Linked DNA regions of Homo sapiens: all the other regions are linked to region 2. Evidence: promoter capture Hi-C in human tissues and cell types (Jung and others, 2019). All regions are on one chromosome and are shown on one strand. The core of a region is centred on a gene start or on the middle of the fragment in contact, and the rest is flanking DNA. Distances in the headings are between cores, read along the strand shown. Region 1 has its middle 14 kb from the start of KCNG4. Region 2 holds the start of COTL1 (coactosin like F-actin binding protein 1). Region 3 overlaps CRISPLD2 (cysteine rich secretory protein LCCL domain containing 2).

Evidence for each region. The method cuts DNA at HindIII sites, captures the fragments that hold promoters and counts their contacts. A contact is called where the count stands out against the background at its distance.
Region 1: a contact is called between a fragment that was not itself captured here and the fragment with the promoter of COTL1 in region 2, in 2 of the 25 tissues and cell types used here (IMR-90 fibroblasts and aorta).
Region 3: a fragment that was not itself captured here is called in contact with the fragment with the promoter of COTL1 in region 2 in 1 of the 25 tissues and cell types used here (thymus).

The regions. Positions count from the first base shown.
Region 1 is chr16:84,251,812-84,255,781 of GRCh38, forward strand. No RefSeq gene overlaps it. Among named protein-coding and RNA genes, the nearest start is that of KCNG4, 14 kb to the left of the region's middle. The HindIII fragment of the contact is 8,191 bases long and covers 1-3,970 here.
Region 2 is chr16:84,616,769-84,620,583 of GRCh38, forward strand. It overlaps COTL1 (coactosin like F-actin binding protein 1), which reads right to left and starts at 1,310. Exons shown (of 4, transcript NM_021149.5): 1 at 1,070-1,310; 2 at 733-815. The coding sequence starts at 1,146. RefSeq lists silencers at 1,139-1,188, 1,209-1,568. The HindIII fragment of the contact is 16,310 bases long and covers 1-3,815 here.
Region 3 is chr16:84,875,062-84,879,270 of GRCh38, forward strand. CRISPLD2 (cysteine rich secretory protein LCCL domain containing 2) reads left to right here. Exons shown (of 15, transcript NM_031476.4): 12 at 2,377-2,449. Among named protein-coding and RNA genes, the nearest start is that of LINC02176, 51 kb to the right of the region's middle. The HindIII fragment of the contact is 5,719 bases long and covers 1-4,209 here.

The sequences.
Region 1 (3,970 bases), core at 1,066-3,565, 360 kb before region 2:
GGAGGATACATCCAGGGTGGGATTTGAAGACCAGATGAAGGCAGAGACAAGACAGCGACCCCAGTTAAGAGACCACAAAAAGAGTGTGTGAGTGAGATAAGAACCTGAACAAAGGAGGCGGTGGAAGGAATGCAGGGGTGTTTCAGGAAGAATAAATGTTGACAGGGCTTGGGACTGGGTGGCTGCAGGGAATGAAGGGCCAGAGGAGGCTGCTGTGGCCCCAAGATTTCCAGTCTGTGTGGCAGAGTGGATGAAGGGGGCAGCCACTCACATAGAAAGCCGTGGGGGAGGAGAAGTTGGGGCAGAGGATGTTGGCCTTGCGCATGCTGGGTTCAGGGCATCACTGGAGACGTGGGGATTTGGAGTCCGGAGCACACAGAATTGCACAGCGCTGGAGTTCAAAGGCGCGTTTCCCCAGCACCTTTGTCCCCGGATCAGAACTCACCTTCAGAGAGGTGCAGTGAGAAGGGGGGTCTGTGCAGAATGGGGGTCATCTAAGAATGGACGGGGAGGCACAGCCGGCACAGGCCTCTGGGTAATTGGAAGGTCAGTTGTCACCTTTCAGGGCGGTTTCTATGGCAACAGAGGGAAGTTGCAGTGTGGAGGGGAGGGGAGCCCAGGAAGCTGGAAGTTTGGGAGTGAATGAATGAAAAGGAAGGTAGGGTGAGAGGTGGGGGGACAGGGTGGAGGCCAGGAGGTGAGGGGAGTCAGGATCCAGTGGAGAGGGAAGAGGGAGATGCAGGCAATTGAGGGGCAATCCAGAAGGCAAAACTGTGGGGAAAGCAATGAATTTCCTCTCAGTCCTGTGAGATGGGAGGCCTGGAGGGAAACCCGGGAAGAGGACTTCCCACAGAAGGCCGGGTCCTGGCTGACAGGCAGGGAAGGAACCAGGATCTGGGTCTTGTTGGATATGGAAATGGGCTGGTCCCAGGCGTGTCCTGGACTGTGATGGGTAGGGACCCTTTTAAAGTTTCCCAGGGTTTCCAAAGAACAGCCTGGGTGAGTCTGTGTAGCCCAGCACACGAAGACCCCACTGGGGCAGCGTTGAGAGCGGTAGACTGCCTTCAACTATTCCTTGTCAGTTGCTAATTATTTCCTGCAGAACAGTGTGTGTGTGTGTGTGTGTGTGTGTGTGTGTGTGTGTGTGTCGGGGGCGGGGGGGGGTGTTAGTTTCTTCCTCCGCACCCACTTCATCTTTCTACTCTCCCCCACTCCCTGGTGCCCTCCTGCGAAACTTTTGTGCTGTGCGTCTGTTCTCAATGACTTGCCATCTGCTGAGCCATTTCTGAGTATGAGTGACACCAGCGGTCCAAGGAAAAGAGTGTTGTTCCAGTAAGTTTGGGGGAAGGAGGGCCAAGCAGGTTCCCTTCTTGCAGAACTGCTCAGCACCTTTGAGAAGTTGATGGAAAAGGCACTTTGTCCATCATGCGCAACACTGGGGTTGTAGTGGAGTCTTTGGCATGGTGCAGGGTGTTTTGCACCGGCCTTGTTCACAGGAGTGGAGTCTACTCAGGGGTGACAATGATGGGACAAGAAGGCCAAATGGCAGGAGATGAGAATAGGAGTCTTGGGAGTAGGGCACAGTGATGGGGAGCAGCTGGCCCATTTCAGGCGGTCTTACTCCTGAAGGCCTCATCTCACAGCCTATCAACCTTCTTATGTGCACCCGCTTTTCACATCCAGAAACTGGTTTGCTCTGCAAAGATGTGGGTACATATTTATTGTTTTGCTTTGCAAATCTTTTGGCTATGAGGACCTTGTTTAATGGATGATTGGCACTGACTCCTCAGCAGACGTTGTACCTGCTTTAGAGAGGTCACTTCCAATGTGACAAGGAAGCTGACATGTGGCTTTTCAATGTAATGAAATATTTTGGGTACAAAATTGACTAATGAACAAATGGATATATTAAATATCAAAATCTATATTAATAACAGGTTATTTTTCCTCATGATTTGGAAACTTTGCATGTTTTCAGAATCATCCATCTTTTGGTAGGTCTTTGGGAAGCTTGACGGTCCTGGATCTTGGGGGCTAGGGGTGCCTAGTGGGGTCAAGGGAGGTCTGGGGGTCTTGGAAAGCCAGGAGGGGTGGGAGCCTGAGGTCTCCAGGAAGACAGGGGCGAGGTGGAGAGACAGGAGATCATAGGCAGAGATTGGCATCTACGTTCAGGATGTTGGAATTGGAGGAGTGTTGGCGGAGGGGTGTTGGGGTCCCTTGTGTCTGATGTGCCTGGGCAAGGAAGAGTTTCTGCTACCAGGACTCTCCTGAGGAAAAAGGATCTAAAACTTGGGAGCAAAGCAGACGGCTGTGTGTGCATCCTTTCAATGTCACACTGTAGCTTCTGTGAACAGGCCAGCTCGGGAGTTATTTATATTTAATTCTCTGGGGGAACTGTGGCTTTGTTTGACTCTTTTTGTACTGTTGAGTAGGGCCCCCGGAGTCTGACGTTAACATGTTAACTTGCAAATTTTTGTCTGGTAGAAATGAGTCTGATTGCTGTCTGTTAGTGAAGAAACCTCCAAGGTCATGGTTTTATTGCCCTGAAGAATGTTCTCCAGTTTTGTGTCTCACCCAGAATCCCTGTCCCAGCATTCTTCTCCCATGCCTGTGAATACTCAGGATGGTCACCAGCTTTAGTGTTCTTGGTCCTTTCACTTATGAGAATGAGGGATTTTTGACACATACTCATTCATTCTATATTCATGGGACAAGTTTGTTGTTTTTTTTTGGTTTGTTTGTTTGTTTGTTTGTTTGTTTTAGTAGAGACAGGGTTTCACCATGTTGCCCAGGCCAGTCTCAAACTCCTGGACTGAAGCAATCCACTTGCCTCGGCCTCCCAAAGTGCTGGGATTACAGGTGTGAGTGATCATGCTGGGCCCCATTTAAAAAAATGTTTTGAAAATTATATTTTGATGCCCTTTCCTAGTAGAACACATCTCCTGGAGGCCCAGGAAGGGAAGGTGGAGACTGGGATCATTGGGATCTTTGAGAGATTTTTGGTCTCATGGCACATGGTGGTGCCTCAGATGCAAGCACAGCAACCTCTGAGCCCTGCTCCAAGTTTGTATAGGTCAGTCCCCACTTCCAGGTGCCAAATTCTGTCACAGTGATCTTTTGCTGTGCAATAAGCCATCTTGAAAACACTGGCATAAAATAATGATTATTTATTACCAATTTTTAAAAAAGAGAGAATCCTGGCTTCTGTGGGTCAGGACTTTGGGCAAGGCACAACAAGAAAGGCTTTTCTACTTCATGATGTCTAGGGTCTCAGCCAGAAGCCCCAGAGCTGAGGGTGACTCTAGTATATGAGGCGGTGGCTGGAGGATCCCCTTCTAAGGTGTTCTTTTTAGTCCTGTGTCTGACACATTGGCAGGGATGGCTGGAAGGCTGGGCTCAGCTGGGACGGTTGCTCAGAGCACCTCTCTGCGGCCACTTCAGCATGGCAGCCTCCATGGGTAGTGAGACTTCTGAAATGACAGGTCAGTGCCTTGTGAGTAAGGTAGGAGCTGCATGGCTTTTTGTGACCCAGCCTGAAAAGTCACATAGTGTCATGTCTGCTGTGTCTAAGCAGTCAGAAGCCTGCCCACTCTCAAAGGGAGGGGACCCAGGCTCCACTTCTCAGTGGGAGGAATGTCAAAGAACCTGTGGTCATGTTAAAGTTGCTGCTGCTGCTTCTACAATTTCCATCCTCTTTGGTCCTTTCTGATGGCTCCTAATAACCCACATCTCATCATAAACCACAAGACTTTGCCAGAAGCCAAGGAAAGAGCAGCCCTCCAAATTGCACCTTTGTTCCCAGTTCCCACCAGAGTCCCTGGAGATTTTATCCATTCGTGATATCTTCTTTCTCTTGGTTCTTCCAGTCTTAGGGGTGGAGCTTCCAGTAATGTATTTGTGTTTCCAGAGAGCTCAAAACACAGCAGAAAATATGCCTGTTGGCATAGGGAATGTTCATGCTACATTTGGT
Region 2 (3,815 bases), core at 60-2,559:
AGGCACACAAATCTTAAGTATACAGTCTGATGATTTTTCACGCGGGTACACACCTGCATAACCCCCTCCCAGATCAACAAATGTCTACAGAGACATTTTCAGCTCCCAGCAGTCCGGGTGGTGTGCCCCTCCCCATCAGTGGCTATCTAGCCCCAAAAGCTAATCTCGATTCTGACATTCACACCATAGATTAGTTTCGCCTTGTCTAGGATTTCTAAATGGAATCATATGGTGTGTACTCTTTTGCATCTGATTCTACTCGTCAAATTAAAAATCACATAAAATCAGCACACGGGCAGACAATGATAGCGGGAGAAAGGAGGGCGCGGCTGAGTTTCTTTCCCTTCCAAGCAGCCCCCTAGCCTGTTCGTATTTGGGCTCAGTGACTGATCAAAGGGGACAGTGGGAAGAGCTGGATGGACACTGGAGTTTGGAAACACAGGAGTTGACCTTAGAAAACCAGTGGACCGCAGGGGGCAAAAGAGCTGCCCCGCCTGGAGAAGGCATTGTAGGATGGCGGAGGCAGGTGGGTCACTTCTGTTGCTTCGGATGTCCAGAGGGGAGAAGGTTTTATGAGGCCTTAAAACGCTCACACCGGGTTCCTCCCACGCCATGCGCCAGGGGCACCCCATGTGGCCACCGGTTCCTCCCGGGTTCGCTCTGGCCGGGGCTCCCCGGGTGCAGACAACCTCCCAACGACCGCGCATCCGCCCGGCAGGCGCGCCTCCCTACCTGTGCACTGCTGGATGAAGTGCTGGTACTCCGCTCCCTGCTCGCCGGGGACGATGGTGGAGCCGTCATATTTAAAAGTCACCCTTTGGGTTGGGAGAAGAAAAAAACACACACACACATCAGCGCTGGTGGCCGCGCGACGCGGCGCTTGCAGAGGACAATCTAACAGACGCGCTGGCCACGGAGAAGCCCGCGGGGGCCTGGCACGCCGTCCCGGAATAAGGCGAGGAAGACAGCGCGGGAGGCCCGAATCCGTCCCGCCTGGAGGCCGGCTCGGTGCACGAGGCCCCGCGCGAGCCCGGGGAGCGGGGCGTGGAGACGAATGAAAAGTTCCTACCAGATGACGGCCGAGCCGTCGTCGCGCACCAGGTTGTACGCCGCCCGGCAAGCCTCTTTGTCGATCTTGGTGGCCATCGCCGCGGAGCCGCAGCGGGACACTGTCCGGGGCGGCCGAGCGCGCCCCTGGCCGGCGGCGGGGATGGGAGCGCGGCGGGTACGCGCCGAGGGCGCACGGGCTGGCGGCGGTGGCGACGGCTACGCGGCGCCTGCAAGCTGCGAGCGCGGCGGCGGCTTCCACTGCGGACGGAGAGCGCGCGGGGACCCCAGGCCGTGGCCCGCCCCGCCCCCCCGCGCCCATTGGCCGCCCAGGCGGCGGCCCGCCTCTTCATTGGCCGTCGGGCTGCGGGGGCGGAGCGTCTTGATTCTCTGGCGGCCAATCCCAGACCGGAAGGCTTGCGCAACTCCGCGGTGGGGGCTGGAGTAGGGGCTTTGCCTCCTCCCTCTCACTCTCCCTCCTCCCTCCCGCTCTCTTCTCCCCCAACATCCCTCTTCTCTCTCCTTCTCCTTCTCACTTCCCCTCCTCCCCTCCCGACCCCTCCCTGGAAACTCCCACTACCCCAACCCCCTTTCCCACCCCGCCTTCCTCCTCTCCCTCCTCCTTCCTCTTCTTCCCCCACTGCTTGCTTCCCCCACTTCCCTGACCTCTTCCCCCTCCCTTCCCTCCCCCTCTTTCTCCCTTCCCCCTTTATTCTTCTTCCTCTCTCCTCCTCCCTCTTCTTGCCTATCCCAGCCCAAAACTTCTCCATCCTCCCTATTTCCTTCTCCCCAAGCTCTCCTCTTTCCTCCTCCTTGACCCCCTCCCCTGCTGCCCCCGGCTTCGCCTCCCTCTTCTCCACTTACCCTCCTGGCATCTCCTCCCTCCCTGTCCCCTACTCCCTCCTCCTATTCCCCCTCTCCCCCTTCCTCATTCTCCCCACCCCCCTGCCCCTGAGGCTGCAGGGCTGCAGAGCTCCACAGGGGACCTCCACGTGGATGATGTAATGCGTCAAACCCAAGGAGACAGGCTGGCCACTGTCCCTACCCCAGCGTTTGGTTCCATGGATTCTAGGTGGGGAGGAACTGGAAAGAATGAAGCATTTTAAATAGGAGGGGGTAGAAAGTGGACTGCTTCCAAAACGCTGGTGGGCTCGCGTTTACTCTGGATTCTGGTCATTTGCATTCCTATCTTAACCTCTCCCTTTGGGCTCCTCTGAAAGCACGAGCTGACTCATTCTGTCTTCCTCATTCCTTCACTGACTCATTCATTCATTCCCTCATCCAGCCATTCCACAGAGACCAGTTACAGCGTCCAGGTAGGTAAAAAGGCAGGATCCTGAAGACTGGGCTCTTGAATTGCATCCAGTACTGCCACTTTCCAACTGGGGGCCATTGGAAAGCCTCAAAACCTCTTTTAAATGACTCCTCAAATGGGAAAAATAGTATAACTGACATCACTGCTTTGTTTTAAGTGTAATTGAAATGATACTTGGAACAAATATACTAGACATTCGATAAAATGTCATCATTGTTGGTTATTAAGTGATAAAAACAAATCCTAAATAGAAACCCAAAAGGTCAGGGACAATGTCCAATTAATGTTAGAATTCTCAACAAGCAAAAAAACAAAAACGAGAAATTGAATGAATCAATCAATCAGTCAATCAATGGGTAGTTGAATGGGTGGGTGGACAGGAACACAGTTTCAGAAGAGTAGAGGCAGATGCTGTTATAAATAAGACAAAAAGAAATTCACATTTCATACCCCACAAAGCCATTCCTACCTTACTCCTTGACAAGGGTAATGGGACAATTGGCCATTAGAAAGAAGAACAAAGGTGGATCCTTTGATCAGGGAAAATTCCAAAAGGATCAAAAATTTAAACACAAATAAAGGAAATCAGACCAGTCGCAGTGGATCACTCCTGTAATCCCAGCATTTTGGGAGGCTGAAGTGGGAGGATCTCATAAGCTCAGGAGTTCGAGACCAGCCTGGATAACAGGGGGAAAGCCCATCTCTACTAAAAATACAAAAATTAGCCAGGCGTGGTGGCAGACGACTGTAATCCCAGCTACTTGGGAGGCTGAGGCAGGAGAATCGCTTGAACCCGGGGCGGGGGGCAGAGGTTGCAGTGAGCTGAGATCGCACCATTGCACTCGAGCTTGAGCGATAAAGCGAGACTCTGTCTCAAAAAAAGGAAATCACAAAAGTGCCAGAAGAAAATATGGGGAGCTTCCTTCTAACCATAAACCATGTTACCCAAATCCAAATCCAAAAGCCATTGAAAAGATGAATACATTCAAACACATAAAAAGTGATCCAGGAAAAAAAAAAAAAAACATACCATACCACCTCATGCAAAGTGTAAACATAAAAAGACAAAGCAGTAAAAAGTGTTTGCAACTCAAGTAAAGAATTAGTCTTGCTAAAATATAGAGAAGTCAAACTTAAAAAAAAGAAAATGAAAAGAACAATGGGCACAGAATATGACCAGACAGATTAAATGATCTTAAACATGCAAAAAGATGCTCAACCTCAACTCCTAGTAAGAGAAATGCAAATTAAAGCAAAATTGAGATACCTTTAAAAAATAAATAAATAAACTAGCAGTTTGGTAAAAATAAAAAACTTTGACAAGCCTACTTTGCTGGGGAGGCTGTGGAAGACCCAGGTCCTCTTGTACATTGCTGGTGGGAGTGTGAATTGACACAACCCCCATGGAGCCGCCGTAGAGGCCAGTTGGCAATGTCTAGCAAATTTACAAGTC
Region 3 (4,209 bases), core at 371-2,870, 260 kb after region 2:
AAGACCCTGTCTCTGCAAAAAACACACAAAATTAGCTGGGCAGGGTGGCACACACCTGTATCTCAGCTACTTCGGAGTCTGAGATGGGAGGGTTGCTTGAGCCTGGAAACTTGAGGCTGCAATGAGTCATGTTCATGCCACTACACTCCAGCCTGGGTGACAGAGCAAGACCCTGTCTCAAAAAAATATATACATATGTGTGTGTGTGTGTGTGTGTGTCAGGAATATATTTCTGTGCCTTTAAATCAAGCTTGTCCAACCCACAGCCCATGGGCTGCATGTAGCCCAGGACGACTCTGAATGTGCCCAACACAAATTTGTAAACATGAGAAACATGAGATTTATGCATGGACTTTTTTTTTTTTTTTTTTTTTTTGTAGCTCATCAGCTATCATTAGTGTTAGTATATTTTATCTGTAGCCCAAGACAATTCTTTTTCCAGTGTGGCCTAGGGAAGCCAAAAGATTAGACACCCTTGCTTTTTTTATTTTATTTTTTATTTTGTTATTTTTTGAGATGGAGTCTCTCTCTGTCGCCCAGCCTGGAGTGCAGTGGCGCAATTTCAGCTCACTGCAACCTCCTCCTCATGGGTTCAAGTGATTCTCCTGCCTTAGCCTCCTGAGTAGCTGGGATTACAGGCACCCGCCACCATGTCCAGCTAATTTTTTTTTTTTTTTTTTTTTAAGTAGAGACGGGGTTTCGCCACGTTGGCCAGGCTGGTCTTGAACTCCTGACCTCAGGTGATCCACCCGCCTGGGCCTCCCCAAGTGCTAGGATTACATGCGTGAGCCATTGCACCCGGCCTGGACACCCTTGCTTTAAATGTTCTTCCAAACCTAATGTGAATGATCTCCCCATTGAATAGAAGTCCCTTGATGTACTAAACCAGTCCCCTTTGTTGGATAGCTATATAGAACCATGGCCTGTTCAAGTGACAGACTGGACCAGCAGGGTTCAGCAAACGATGACTCATGGGTTAAATCCTGCCTATTGCCTGCTTTTGTAAATAAAGTTTTATTGGAACACAGTTACACCTATTCCACATCATCTATAGCTCCTCTCTGCTACAACAGCAGAGTTGATTAATCTTGACATCAAACATAAGGACCACAAAGCCAAACATGTTTGCTCTATGGTCCTTTAAGAAAAAGTTTACCTGGCCGGGCGCGGTGGCTCACGCCTATAATCCCAGCACTTTGAGACGTCCAGGCAGATGGGTCACCTGAGGTCAGGAGTTTGAGACCAGCCTGGCCAACATGGTGAAACCCCGTCTCTACTAAAAATACAAAAATTATCCAGGTGTGGTGGCAGGCACCTGTAATCTCAGCTACTTGGGAGGTTGAGGCAGGAGAATTGCCTGAACCCAGGAGGTGAAGGTTGCAGTGAGCCAAGATCATGCCATGGCACTCCAGCCTGGGCGACAGAGTGAGACTCCGTCTCAAAAAAAAAAGGCCGGTGCAGTGGTTTCCACCTGTAATCTTAGCACTTTGGGAGGCTGAGGCAGGTGGATTACCTGAGGTCAGGAGTTCGAGACAAGCCTGGCCAACATGGTGAAACCCTGTCTCTACTGAAAATACAAAAATTAGCTGGCTGTGGTGGCAGGCGCCTCTAATCCCAGCTACTCGGGAGGCTAAGGCAGGAGAATCAGTTGAACTCAGGGGTGGAGGTTGCAGTGAGCCAAGATCGTGCCGTTTCACTCCAGCCTGGGCAAAAAGAGCAAAACTCTGTCTCAAAGAAAAAAAGAAAAAGAAAAAGTTTACTTAGCCCTGAACTAAATAAAGACATGCTGTCAGAGATCACAGGTGGCCAGTATTAGAACTGTTTCCTTACCTGTGTTGTTTAAACACAACAAAATGACCTTGAAGATAAAAGCCCCTCGCCCCTCAGCAGGGATGAATGTGCCTTGATTAGCGGCAGGAGGTAGGTGGTATGTCAGAAGGAGCTCTAGAGCAGGCACTGGAAAGCTGGGCTCCCACCTCAGTCCTGGGAAGGGCACTCTGAGCTCTCTGAGCTTCCATTTCCTCATCTGCCTACTTAGAGTAACACCTGCTGTGAGGAGCAAAGGTGATCAAGTCAGGAAAAGCTTCCAAATAAGAAAGTCACCATTCAGATGAAAAGCACCATCAGCCCCACAGAGAAACCACTGGGGGTGACAACGCCCTCAACCCGCCAACACATGCAGGCCGTGGGTTTGGTCTCATCTCTTAAGTGCCCCTACGTGGGGTACGAGGAGCCTGCTGGGTCGTAGTCCCAGCTCTATTCAAGGGCCCAGGGAACCCATAGGCCCTGGTAGTCTAGTGGCCCATTGCACAGCCTGGTAGCCTGAGGCCCAGGCGTGCTGGGACCTGACCCTTTCCCCCTTGCTCCTGTTCACAGTGCAGGATTTGGACTGCTACACGACCGTTGCTCAGCTGTGCCCGTTTGAAAAGCCAGCAACTCACTGCCCAAGGTAAGGCGGGCCTGATCTGTCATCTTTTCTATGGAAGATGTTAGAAGTAGCTTTTTAGGCTGGGTGAGGTGGCTCACAGCTGTAATCCCAGCACTTTGGGAGGCCGAGGCGGGTGGATCACTTGAGGCCAGGAGTTCGTGACCAGCCTGGCCAACATGGTGAAACCCCATTTCTACTAAAATTACAAAAATTAGTCAGCCATGGCGGTGGGTGCCTGTAATTCCAGCTACTTGGGAAGCTGAGGCAGGAGAATTGCTTGAACCTGGGAGGCGGAGGTTGCAGTGAGCTGAGATCACGCCATTGTCCTCCAGCCTGGGTGACGAGTGAAACTGTGTCCCAAAATAAATAAAATACAAATTAAAAATCAGCTTTATTGAGGTAAATGATACGATCCACCCATTAGAAGTAAACGATGTGTGGCCGGGCACGGTGGCTCACGCCTGTAATCCCAGCACTTTGGGAGGCCGAGGCAGGCGGATCACGAGGTCAGGAGATCGAGACCATCCTGGCTAACACGGTGAAACCCCGTCTCTACTAAAAATACAAAAAAAAAAAAAAAAAAAATTAGCCGGGCGTGGTGGCGGGCGCCTGTATTCCCAGCTACTCGGGAGTCTGAGGCGGGAGAATGGCGTGAACCCAGGAGGTGGAGCTTGCAGTGAGCCGAGATCGCACCACTGCACTCCAGCCTGGGTGACAGAGCGAGACTCCGTCTCAAAAAAAGAAAAAAGTACACAATGTGTTTTGGCCAAGGTATACAGGGTCACAACCACCACCCGTCAAAGTGTAGACATTGTCAGCACCGAATGTCATTACTGCTCTGGTGGCCAGTCCCTCTCCCTCCAGCTCCCGGCCACACCCCTGCACCAGGGAGCTTCTTTCTGTTGCTCTGATTTTGCTTTTTCAGCAAAATTATGGCGCCGTGGCAGGGTGTGGTCTTGGGTGTCTGGCTTCTCACTCTGCGTCATGTGTTGGAGACTCAGCCGTGTTGTGGAGCGTGTTTGTTTATTCTTTCAAATCCTCATGCAGCATTCCATTCTGTGGATACGTGACAACGGGTTTGTCCCAGGAATCGGTTCTACAGGCAGCTAACCCCAAATGAGTGGTCCACGGAGGACGATGCCTCCCAGCATAAAATAAAGGGTGTCCTGGGAACAGCTGTCGCTGAAGTTCCTGGTAGATCCTCTTGGGAAGGGAACACAGGAACATCCTCTTATTTGAATCGGCTGAGGCACCTTCTCAGGTGGAAAAGGCCGCAGGTCTCTGGGACGTCCCCACTTTATAGATGTTCCCCAGGGTTCAGATCATATAATACATCTGTAATGCTAAGCTGCCCTTCAAACAGAGCACGCTTTCTGACTTAGCTCCATTGTAGAATTAGAAATAGAATGACAGTCCCAGGACCCTGGGTTGAAATGCTTTGAGGATGAAGACAGCTGCCCTGGAGGCTGGGTGGTGTGGCCCTCATGAGCCCTCATCCTGGGCTGGAGACCTGTGGATTCTCCAAGGGACAATAGGTGGTGACCCCAAGGTTCCGAGCAGGGAAAGGCCCAGGAGGGTGACTGGTTGGGAGGGGCCCAGACTGCTTTCCCTTGACTGCCACCCCACTTCAGGCTTTCTCTGGGCCTCCACTGCCTCCGCACCACCGTCTTGATCCCCCTTGAATGTTCGAGTGGGGATAACAGCCTTTTAGTAGATTTTCCCTGAATATTAGAGAGAAGCAGAAGGAAAGAATTTCAGAAAATACAAACAGAAAAACTTGA